2 separate regions of the Homo sapiens genome follow, and region 1 is linked to region 2. Evidence: promoter capture Hi-C in 16 types of primary human blood cells and fetal thymus (Javierre and others, 2016). All regions are on one chromosome and are shown on one strand. Each heading gives the region's core, a stretch centred on a gene start or on the middle of the fragment in contact. The rest is flanking DNA. Distances are from core to core; before and after follow the strand shown.

The links. Contacts are between HindIII fragments. The CHiCAGO score rates a contact against its expected background, and 5 or more counts as called.
Region 1: a contact is called between a fragment that was not itself captured here and the fragment with the promoter of PTPRU in region 2, in 1 of 17 cell types (endothelial precursors). The highest score is 9.7, in endothelial precursors.

The regions. Positions count from the first base shown.
Region 1 is chr1:29,700,645-29,705,904 of GRCh38, forward strand. No RefSeq gene overlaps it. Among named protein-coding and RNA genes, the nearest start is that of LINC01648, 330 kb to the right of the region's middle. The HindIII fragment of the contact is 2,061 bases long and covers 302-2,362 here.
Region 2 is chr1:29,234,881-29,239,975 of GRCh38, forward strand. PTPRU (protein tyrosine phosphatase receptor type U) reads left to right here and starts at 1,642. Exons shown (of 30, transcript NM_133178.4): 1 at 1,642-1,837. The coding sequence starts at 1,765. RefSeq lists a silencer at 1,445-1,764. The HindIII fragment of the contact is 8,758 bases long and covers 1-5,095 here.

The DNA.
Region 1 (5,260 bases), core at 82-2,581, 470 kb after region 2:
AACTCACTTCAGGGCTGTGTAGTTGAATTCTCAGCAATGCTAATTAGATTGGGAAAGAGCCTGTGCTCACAGCAGGACTGCTGCAGGGTCACCCACTAACAAGCCAAGCCCCACCTGCCATCCAACTGCCCATACCTACCTCACCCTCCCTGTTCTCATCTCTCCAGCCCCCACTTCCATGGAGAGCAGAACCAGTCATACTTCTCATGCCTGTAATGACTGATGAATCTTCTTTGTGAGGAAGAATAGCAGCCAAAGTTCACAGGGGAAGTAGCTGCCCTCCCCACAAGTGTCCCTCATAAGCTTCCTGGAGCTGGTGGTGAGGGGTAGGAGGAAGAAGAGGGATGGGCAGTGGGAGCATCAGTAGATAATCAGCCTATTCCTTCTCCTGGTGGGGACAGGAATTCCCTTAATCAACTCTCTTCTCCCTATTAATTCTGCTCAATCCAACCTGTTTATTATCATCACCATCATCACCATCATTTTAACTACCAGGTCATGGATGTTACTGGGTACCAGACAATTTAAACACAAGATTGCAAATACCAAAGGAAAACCTGCAAGACAGTATCATTATCTACATTTCACAGATGAGAAAACTGAGGCTTAGAAGGTAAAATCAAGTTGGGCGCAGTGGCTCACACCTGTAATCCCAGCACTTTGGGAGGCTGAGGTGGGCGGATCACGAGGTGAGGAGTTCGAGACCAGCCTGGCCAATGTAGTGAAACCTCATCTCTACTAAAAAATACAAAATTAGCTGGGCATGGTGGTGCATGCCTGTAATCCCAGCTACTCAGGAGGCTGAGGCAGGAGAATTGCTTGAACCTGGGAGGCAGAAGTTGCAGTGAGCCGAGATCGCGCCACCGCACTCCAGCCTGGGCGACAGAGCGAGATTCCATCTCAAAAAAAGAAGGTAAATTCACTGGTCCTATGGCTTGTAAGTTGGGGAGCGAAGACTAGAACAGAGGACAGTAAAGCCTGCATTCCGGCTTCACAGCTTACCAGTTGTGTGAGCCCCGGGCACCTGTCTTAACATCTCTGAGCACCAGTTTCCTCCTCTATCTCATTTTACTTCAAGTCCCCAACAATACTACAAGGTGGTGGTTAGACACTGTGTCCGTTTTGCAGATTCAGAAGCTGGGGCTCAGGGAAGGCAGAGCTTTGCCCACGTTTCAGCCGTCAGGACATGGTGGCGCTGGGATTCAGCCCAGGTCCATCTGATGGTGTTATCCCTTCTGCTGTCCTGTTTTTGCTGCACTCAGCTAGGTCTGTGGAGCAGTTTGCCTTCCCTGGGACCCTGGGGACAGAGGGCTTGCTCAGGGCTAAGGCGTATCTGGCATGTTCAAGCCCATGCCATGATGCTCCCTGTAGAGGGTCAGGCCATCTGAACACATGAACCCACAGGATGTGCTGCGGCATGTGCCAGACCATGGCCTGGATCTCCCCCAGACATCCAAGGGAAGGAGCCTCTCTCCTCTCCCCTCCCACCACCTTCCCTCCTTTTCTCTCTGCCTGGGGCTCATAGAACAGGGGTGGCTTGGAGGCTCTAGCCCTACACTGTCTGGGATGGACTCCTAGCTCTGCCATGTGCCCGGCAGGGTTTTTTTTTTGGCTGGTCTTTTCTCTTCTCTGAGCCTCACCGAGTGGTCTTCTCTGCAAGGAGAGACAGACAATAATGGCACCTGCCTCACTGAAAGTTGAGAGGGAGAAATGGGGAAAGACACACACACTGCTTAGCATCAGGGCTCATGCATGGGGACCACCCAGAACACAGCAGCTACTGCAATATTTGGATTTGGTTTGATTCTCGGGTCCACTTTAGAGGGTAGGCCAGGCCAAAAGTCCTTGGCCCCAGTCCACACAGTAAACTGTGGGAGATGTGGCCTTGGACTTGGATCAGGTGTTCCCAATTCCTTCTCTTGGACCTACCATGATCTTCTCTGTGACCTCAGACACATTCGCCTCTCTCTGTCCCTGACTCTCCATCTTGCCCTGAAAAATCTAGAGTAGAAAGATGACTTCAGGGCTCTCTGCCACCTCTAAGACCCCAGGATGCTGAGCTCATCTGAATCCCCATCTACAGAGGCACTAAAGCTCATTCGGCCCTATCAACATGTTTAAGGCCTGAAAAAAGTTATGAGATTCAAATACAAACAGAAAGATACAACCTTCAAATTGACATGTTTAATTAAATCTCTGCAAAATGTAACATCATCAACTGTCACTTTGTGCTCTCCTTGGCTCTTATGTAGTTATATACATACACTGATTTAATGTGCAATCTTGATATGTTTGATCTGATGGAGAAAGGAGCTTCTAAGAGTATGAAGACCTGGAGCTGGAAGAGGCCTTAGAAGAATAAAGCTTGAGGTGGGTGCGTGGGGTGGAGTTGGGGTTGGAGGAGAGCAGCTTGAGAAGACTGCATGGAGGAGGAGGTATGTGGCTGGGAAGGACATTCGTGGCAGAGGAACAGCATGTGCAAAGGAGCATGGTCTGGAGGGGCCCAGCACGCCTGAGGAGCAGGGACAAGCGATTGCACCTGCAGCATAAAGAGGTGTGGGGCAGGGAAAGAGGGGCTGGAACATAGGTTGTTCTTCCCCCTCTTGAGCCTCTCTCCATCCTGCACCTTCTTTCCCACCATTAGAGCCCAGCTCTGTTGGTGTCCTCACTGAGGCTAGGCTTGATGTCCTCGGCCATTGCAGAGGCCCCAGGCCTGGTTGGGTCTCTCTGCTGACTGCCGGGGCCTGGCTCGAGACTTCTGGTCCTGTCAACTCCACTTCTGCCCTCAGGGCGTTGGCATCAGAGGCAGAGAGGTAGGATGAAAAGAGAAATAGTTTAAAACACAAAACCAGCCCAGACTCCCTTCTCACTCAATTTCCAGAAATAAGCTAATTTCTACTTATTGATATCTCTCTCCGCAGACCAGTGTTTTAACTGAAAGAGCCCAAGTATGCCCTAGCAGTTGCAAGGCCATTTGGGAGAAAGATGCCCATTCTTCTGCCCAACCATAAAGTGCCCTTTGGGAAGTGATGGGAGCCTTGCAGATGTCCAGCTTCCTTGCTGCTGCTCCTTCCTGGAGCCCCTAGTGGCAAAGCTGGGGAATTATTGGTGCTGGATATTCAGTCATTGCTGCAGGTTGCATCCGACCATTAGTGCAGATCTGTGTGTGCAGCCTCACCCGGGCAACGGTCTGGGCGATGGTTCCTTCCCTCAGAGATGCCAAGCACCCGGAAGGAAGGAGAGCACCCAAGCAAAGTGGGCAGCTTTCAGGTGCTGTCGTTCTGGGGTAGGGGCACTCTAAACTCCCTCTGCTCAAATCCATTGATCTGTCATGCCCCGGGTTGGCCCCTGAGCTCCCACCATCGACAGATCCCATGATCTGTCATGCCCCAGGTGACCCCTGAGCTCTGACCCCTCTCCCTGTTGGGTTTTTCTCCTGGTATTTCTTACTGCCTGAAATGATCTTCTTCAGCTGTGTGTTTACATGGCTTCCCAGGGATCATCCACCTACACTGAGGCTTTAGGTTGAATGATGCCTTTTTCTGCAGGCTTCCTTTGCAAAGTGCACAGCCCCTCTGACCTCAGGGGGATTAATGGATGCTTTTGTCTGTGGAAAGCAGGATATTGGAGCTCCTAGGAAACCTAGGAATTGGGGGAGGGCCAGAGGATACTGAGAAAAGAAGAAAAGAGAATGGGGATGGGGGAGGCTTCCAGACAAATTGCACCACCTCCACCTGGCCATCTAGGAGGAGAGGCTGAGCAGGCTGAGCTCCCAATGGCTGTGTAGCCATTGAGGAGAGGGAGTCTCTGCCTATAGAGGACAGTACTGGGACAAGAGAGGCAGGAAGTGACAGGACAGCAGGTTTTGGAATGATAAAGGTTGCTTCCAATGGAAATAAACATCTCATATTAGGAGGGAATCTAGTCTAAGTTGCATGGCCTCCTACACAGAAGCTAGGTGGGTGGAGGGGTGGGTAACCAGTTAAACCGTATTACAAAGGAAGGTGAATTAGATTAGTTGTAAGAGCATTAGTACAGCTCACAGCTCACTGAGTGCCTGGCACTGGGCTCAGCTCTCCACATATAATAACTCATTGACTCTTCATAGCAACGCTGTCAGTCACAAATTGTTATTATTCCCTTTTAACAGAAAGGAAACTGAGGCACAGAGAATAAATCAATGCTCAAAGACATCAGCTGTTAATGATGGAGCCAGGAGTTCCTTTCAACTCCAAATTCTAAAATCCTAGGGTTCTGAGACTTTCAAGATCTTGTTTTTTAATTCTAAAACTTCCATAATTTTATCATGCCATTTAACGTGTTCGATTTCTAACATTCCATGATTCTAAGAGTCTCAGAGTCTATAATTTGATGCTAAGTCTGAGGATCTAAGGCTTGATTGCTCTAAGATTCTCTGTGTCTAATATTTTATAGGTAGCATGGGACTACCTGTGGGAAACCAAACAGCATAAGGTAGGGAAACTCTTCCTTACTCTCCCATGAAGAGAGAAGTCAAGGCTATGTTTCCAAGGGTCAGAGATGTCCCTTCCCACCCCTGGCCTTTGGCAGGGGAAGCCAAAAACGTTGCTTTTCTTGGCCGTTAACCTGAGGTATCCCCAAGGGAGATGGTTGGAAGCCAGTGCTTGAAGCAGAAGGAGACTAGCGAGAAAGAAGAGGGGTCTTGAGAAGCATTTTCCCAGAGGTGGGCCATCAGAAACTCTCCTTGCAGCCCCCACAGTGTCCAGGAGGGGAAGGGAGGTCCTTAGAGGGGAAGGGCTGCCAGGTATGTCCTAGAAGTTGAGCCTATGGGAGGAGTTCTTCCTTTGGACCCACACCCTAGTCCCTTGACTCCTCTCCCTGTTGGGTTTTTCTCATGGTATTTCTTACTGCCTGAAATGATCTTCTTTAGCTGTGTGTTTACATGGCTTCCCAGGAATCATCCATCTACACTGAAGTGTCAGCTACCTGAGGGCAGGGAGAAAGTCTGAGCAGGCTTGCAGTAGGTATTTCTTCTCTGAGTGAGTGGGTGTCCGAATGGCACCATCAGCCCAAGACCAAGATGGCACCCTGGCCTCCTCCCTCACCAATGACTTAGGTCAAGAGACTTAACCTCTTGCTGCCTGTTTGTCTCCATAAAATAGAGGCAGTGATAATGTGCCTTCCCCTTAAGATCAGTGAACGAAGTGTCTAGAGTGTTCAGGATGTTCCTGGCAGATGGGAAGCCCTCAGTGAGGGTTAGCTGTGGCTGTTAATGTTACGA
Region 2 (5,095 bases), core at 392-2,891:
ATCATTATACTCCCTCGTTTCCTTTAGCTTGCATATCTTAGATGGTAATGATATATTTATGTACATGTTTGCTGTTGGGCTCTCCTAATAGAATGTAAGATTCATGAAGGCTAGGACCATTTCCCTTTCATTCATTCCATCCAGTCAGTATTTATTGAGCATCAATTACGTGCCAGAGGCCGGGCGCGGTGGCTCACGCCTGTAATCCCTGCACATTGGGAGACTGAGGCAGGTGGATCACCTGAGGTCAGGAGTTCCAGACCAGCCTGGCCAACATGGTGAAACCCTGTCTCTACTAAAAATACGAAAATTAGCCGGGCGTGGTGGTGGGCACCTGTAATCCCAGTTACTTGGGAGGCTGAGCCAGGAGAATTGTTGGAGCCTGGGAGGCAGAGGTTGCAATGAGCCAAGACTGCGCCATTGCACTCCAGCCTGGGCAACAAGAGTGAAACTCCATCTTGAAATAAAATAAAATAAAATAAAATAATAAAAACATGCCATATACTGGGCACGGAAATACAAGATGAGTCTTTTCCCAAGGGAGCTCATTTCTAGAGGTGGAGACAGATAATGAACTCATCATATAGCCCGCACTCTATTTGAAATTGCAACAATTCCCCTTCCCTTCCCTGTCCCCCCACCACCCCCAAATTTCCTGGTGTATGAGACAGTGATAAAGGACGTACACCAGAGGGTTTGCTTTTTTGTTTTTGTTTTTTTGGTTGTTTACTGTTCTTGTCTTCCCACTGGAATGTAAGGTCCATGAGAGTAGGGAATTTTTGTCTGTTTTATATCTCTACCCTGGCCTATAGTAATTGTTGAATAAATGAATAGACCCCAATAAATATTTGTTGAATGAATAGGTGTCCAGATGGGAGGAAGGTCTCAGCCCCTATTCAATTCAAACCAAACAACTTTGATTCAAATCTCGGTGCTGTCAAATACTGTTGCATAACAGTATTTATGCAGTATAATTATTGCATACCTAATATATGATGATTAAATGAGTCCATGTGGGTTAAACACATAGAAGGTACCTGGTCTTACATAGTAATGAGCAACGAGTTTGCAGATCATAGTGCGAGGGCTCGTTCTGGGTAGAGGCCCAAATACATTTAACCTGTGTAGCCAGAAGGTAGAGTAGGACCAGTGAGGGCTAGTGAGGGAGGTAGACTTGCACGTCATGAAATGAAAAACTTTCTAAAAGCCGGCGTTTCCAAAGCCCCAACAACCGCTCTTGGCCAGGTGATGAGCGCCCTGTTCCTGGAGGTATGTAGAACACGCATTTGAAGGCGCCAAGGTACAAGGGATTCAGGCATCGGATGGGACAGAGGCCGGGTGTCCCTGGGTCACCGTCCCTGAGAGCGCTGTACGGGAGCTAGGCGTGGGCCATGAGCGTGCTCGCCTGGCAGTGTTGGTGCCCGGTCCGTGGAGACGTCCGTGGGCGTCCAGACCCAGCCGCGGGGCCTCATGGCGGGGAGGATGCGGGAGCGGGGGAGGGGCGCGCCAGGGCTAGCGGGCGGCCGGACCCGCTGCAGCACCCGCCGTGGCCAGCAGGGAGCGCCGCGAGACCGCCGAACCCGCGGCCGGGCCTGACGTCAGCGCCCCGCTTGCTCCGGCTCGCGCTCTGGACTCGGCGCCAGTCCCGCTCCGCGCCGCGCCGCTCCGCTCCGGCTCGGGCTCCGGCTCGCCTCGGGCTGGGCTCGGGCTCCGGGGGCGGCGTCCCCCGCGCCGGGCCCCGGGACGGGCGGCGACGCTCCAACCATGGCCCGTGCCCAGGCGCTCGTGCTGGCACTCACCTTCCAGCTCTGCGCGCCGGAGACCGAGACTCCGGCAGGTAAGCGCGCGGCGGCCGGACCGAGCCTGCCCCGCCGAGCCTCGGGGCCCGTGGCGTAGCTCGGAAGAAAGTGTGAGTGTTGAGTGACCGGGCGTTACGAGCGTGCTCCCTGTGTGTGTCTGAGCGTAGGATGGGCGATTGTGTGCCCGGGGTGTTGCGTGACTGCGAATGTTGTGTGTCCGTGAGTTCTGTGCGCAAGAAAAGGTGATGTGTGTCGGCGAGTATGTTGGGGGTGAATGTTGTGTGCATCGAGGCATTGGGTGTGCGCTGAGTGTCTTGTGGGTCTGCCAGTGTGTAGTGTTTGTGTGGCCAAGTGGGTTGTGTGTGCATCTGAGTTTGGTTGTGTTGCGGGAGTTGTATCTGCTAATGTGTTGCATTTGTTTGCATTTTGTATGCCTGGCCGGGAGTGCTGTTTGTTTTGTGTCTGCGAGTGGGTTGTGTGTTTGTGTTATGCCTGTGGCCAAGGGTGCTCTCTGGATCCCGCCTGAGTGTGGATCCGGGAACGCGTGTGTGGCGTGTGTGCTTTTGAGATCCGTGTACATGTGTGAAGGCGTGGGAACGGGTCCGGAACGTGTGTGTCCGTGCGCTGTGTACGTGTGGGGAGTGTCTAGGGTATGTGGTGTGTGCTGCCGGGGGCCGCGTGGGTCCGAGTGAATGCCAAGTGTGCCGGGAATGCGTGTGTGGGAGCGAGTCTGGAACGGATGTGAGTGTGTGCGAATGTGTCCGTGTGTGCTGGCTGCGCGTCCAGGAATGTTGCGAGTGTGGAGCGCGCCTGGGCCGCGGCTGCGAGTGTGCCCTGGTCCCGGGGCCGCCCGAGGGGGCGGTGGCAGGACGTGTGTGCGCGCGTGTGCGTGTGCGCGTGTGTGGCGCGCTGGGCCGGAACAAGTTGTCGCGGCGGCGCCCCCTGGGCTGCCCGGGTCGGGCAGGGCCCGAGGCTCAGGGGAGGACCGGGCCCCGCGGCCGCCGCCTCGGGCATGTCGGACTGTTTGTTGTTTCGCAAGTTCCGCGCGGCGCTGGCGGGCGGCTGATCCGAGGCGGCGCCGGGGCTGCGGGGCGCCCGGGCCAGCGGGCCCCAGCGAGGGGCCGGCGGGCGGGCAGGGGAGGGCCGGACCGGCGGGCGCTCCTGCGGTGGCCGGGCCGCGGCTGCGCCCCGGGCGGCCGGGCGGGGGCTGTCCCCGGGCTGGGCTGCGACGTCCGGGCGCGGGCAGGGCCTGGCTCGCCGCCGGGGGACGGCGCCCCCTCCCTTGGCGCGCAGGACGCGCGGGGGACGCCCGGGCCTCCCGGGACACTCCCTTGGTGGAGCCTGCAACTTTGTGCGGCCTCCCGGCCGGCCGGGACCGCCAGGTGTGTGCTTGAGTGTGAGCGTGAGTGTGAGCGTGTGGCTCCGCGCTTGTCTGCTGTGTGGTCGCGTTCTCCGGGTGTGTTTCGGAGTCTGGTGTCTTTGGTGTGCGTGCGCGTGTGTGTGTGCGCGCAGCTGAATGTATGTATACGGAGCCTGTGTTTGTGTGTCCGTGTGCTCGTCGGAGTGTGGACGGTGTGTCGGATGTGTGTGCGTGCGCGTGTTCCACATCCCACCCTGAGGCCTGGGATCCTAGACCGCGGCCCCTTCCCGCGGAGTTTCGGGGCCCTGCTCCGGGTGACCTCCCCCGCCCTCGCCACCGGCGGGGCTGCTCCGCGGGCTCCGGGTAGCCGGGAGACGCCCGGGGCGGGATCCGAGCCGAGACACGTGCTGGAGCGGAGCCGCTTCCTCACGGTCGCCAGCCGCAGACAACTGACCTCCCCGGCATCGCGTTCGCGGCCCTGCTGCTGGCTCCGGTGTCTCGGGCCGGAACTCCTGTGGCTCCAGCGTTCGCGCCGGCCACTGGCCAGCGCTTGGGCCTCGCCCTGCAGCTCCGGGGCCATAGGGCACAGCTTTAGCTTTGACCTCCCCGTTCCCGAAAGGACGCCCAAGGCGACCTCCCACCCCATCCTCCCCAACTTCTCCCCCATGTCCTGCGGCAACTTTGCCTCCCTCTCCCACCGTGAAATCAAACCCGCGGGGTTCTGTATGCGCCCCATCCCCGCTCCTACCACCATCGCTTTGATTTCAAGAACACTCACAAGCCCCAAGCCCTGCCAGCAGGAGGACTGTCAGGAACTGAAGTTTGGGAGTGAGGCCTAGAGCAGGTTACTCCCATTCTTGATGCCTCAGTTTCCTCTTCTGCCTCATAGCCATCATGATAATGGTGTATGGCACTTTTGGTAGATACCAAGTACCTTGTAAAGTAAGGCTCTGTCTGTGAGTGCCAGGGAACAAAAAATGGATTTGAGAGTTGTTGCAAAGCCCCAGACAGAGGCTGTGATTTAAAGCTGGGGTATTAGGTGTCAAATTCTGCCTCTGCTACTTGCTATTCATGTGATGTCTGGCAAATCACCTCACTTGTAAAGTTCCTGGCCCCCTTTGTTATTCTTAGAGATGAACTCAGAAGCCCAAGTAGAATAGATGTGATACCCCTTGTCCCCAGTCTGGACAGAGTCAGCCCAGCTCCCTGAATGGCTCCGGAGCTTCCGGGTAGGGGCGGTGTGTGATGCCTTCTCAGCCTTGCAAACCTGGTAGTTATTTATTCTGCTGTGTTCTTGCTATTTTGTCCTTTTGGTCGCAGGAGTTGTGGACGGCAGGAATGAGGGAGTGGCTGCCCAGTGGTTTCAGGTTGGGCAATAAAGGCTTGTCTGGGCATCCCTCCCTTTTCCCTGGGGCTAGGGGAGGGGACTTAGCAGGAAGCAGTGACAGTGGCCGAGGTGGGGACGCTGAGCTCCTGGACAGCCTGCTGCCCAGCTCTGGTGTCAGAAAAAACCTAGGGCAAGCATCGTGCTTGATGGAGACAGGCCACCATCCTTCCATGATTTTCATCAGCTCAGCTGGGCATATGGGGTGGCCTTTCCATGCAGGACTGGGTTGGCCAGAGTTGCAGGGGGTACCTTGTGCTCCTCCTTCCTCCCCCTCCCCCCTTTTCCTAGTTGCCCTCCTGCATCCTGGAACGTCCTGTCTGCCCTCTCAGAGACTCTTTCATCTGTCTCCTTCTGTCCGTCCTCAGCTATCTTTCACCTGCAGGAAGACTCCAGCCTCCTCCTTCCCTCTTTCCCTCATGGTGCCAGGGATCTTTGTAAAGTACATTTTAACTCAAAGGGTTTAAAACCCTTTGAAGGCTCCCCATTGCCTTCAGGGTGAAGTCCTTATCCCTTGGCCCTGTTGCTGGCTCTAGCTCCTGCCTGCCTGTC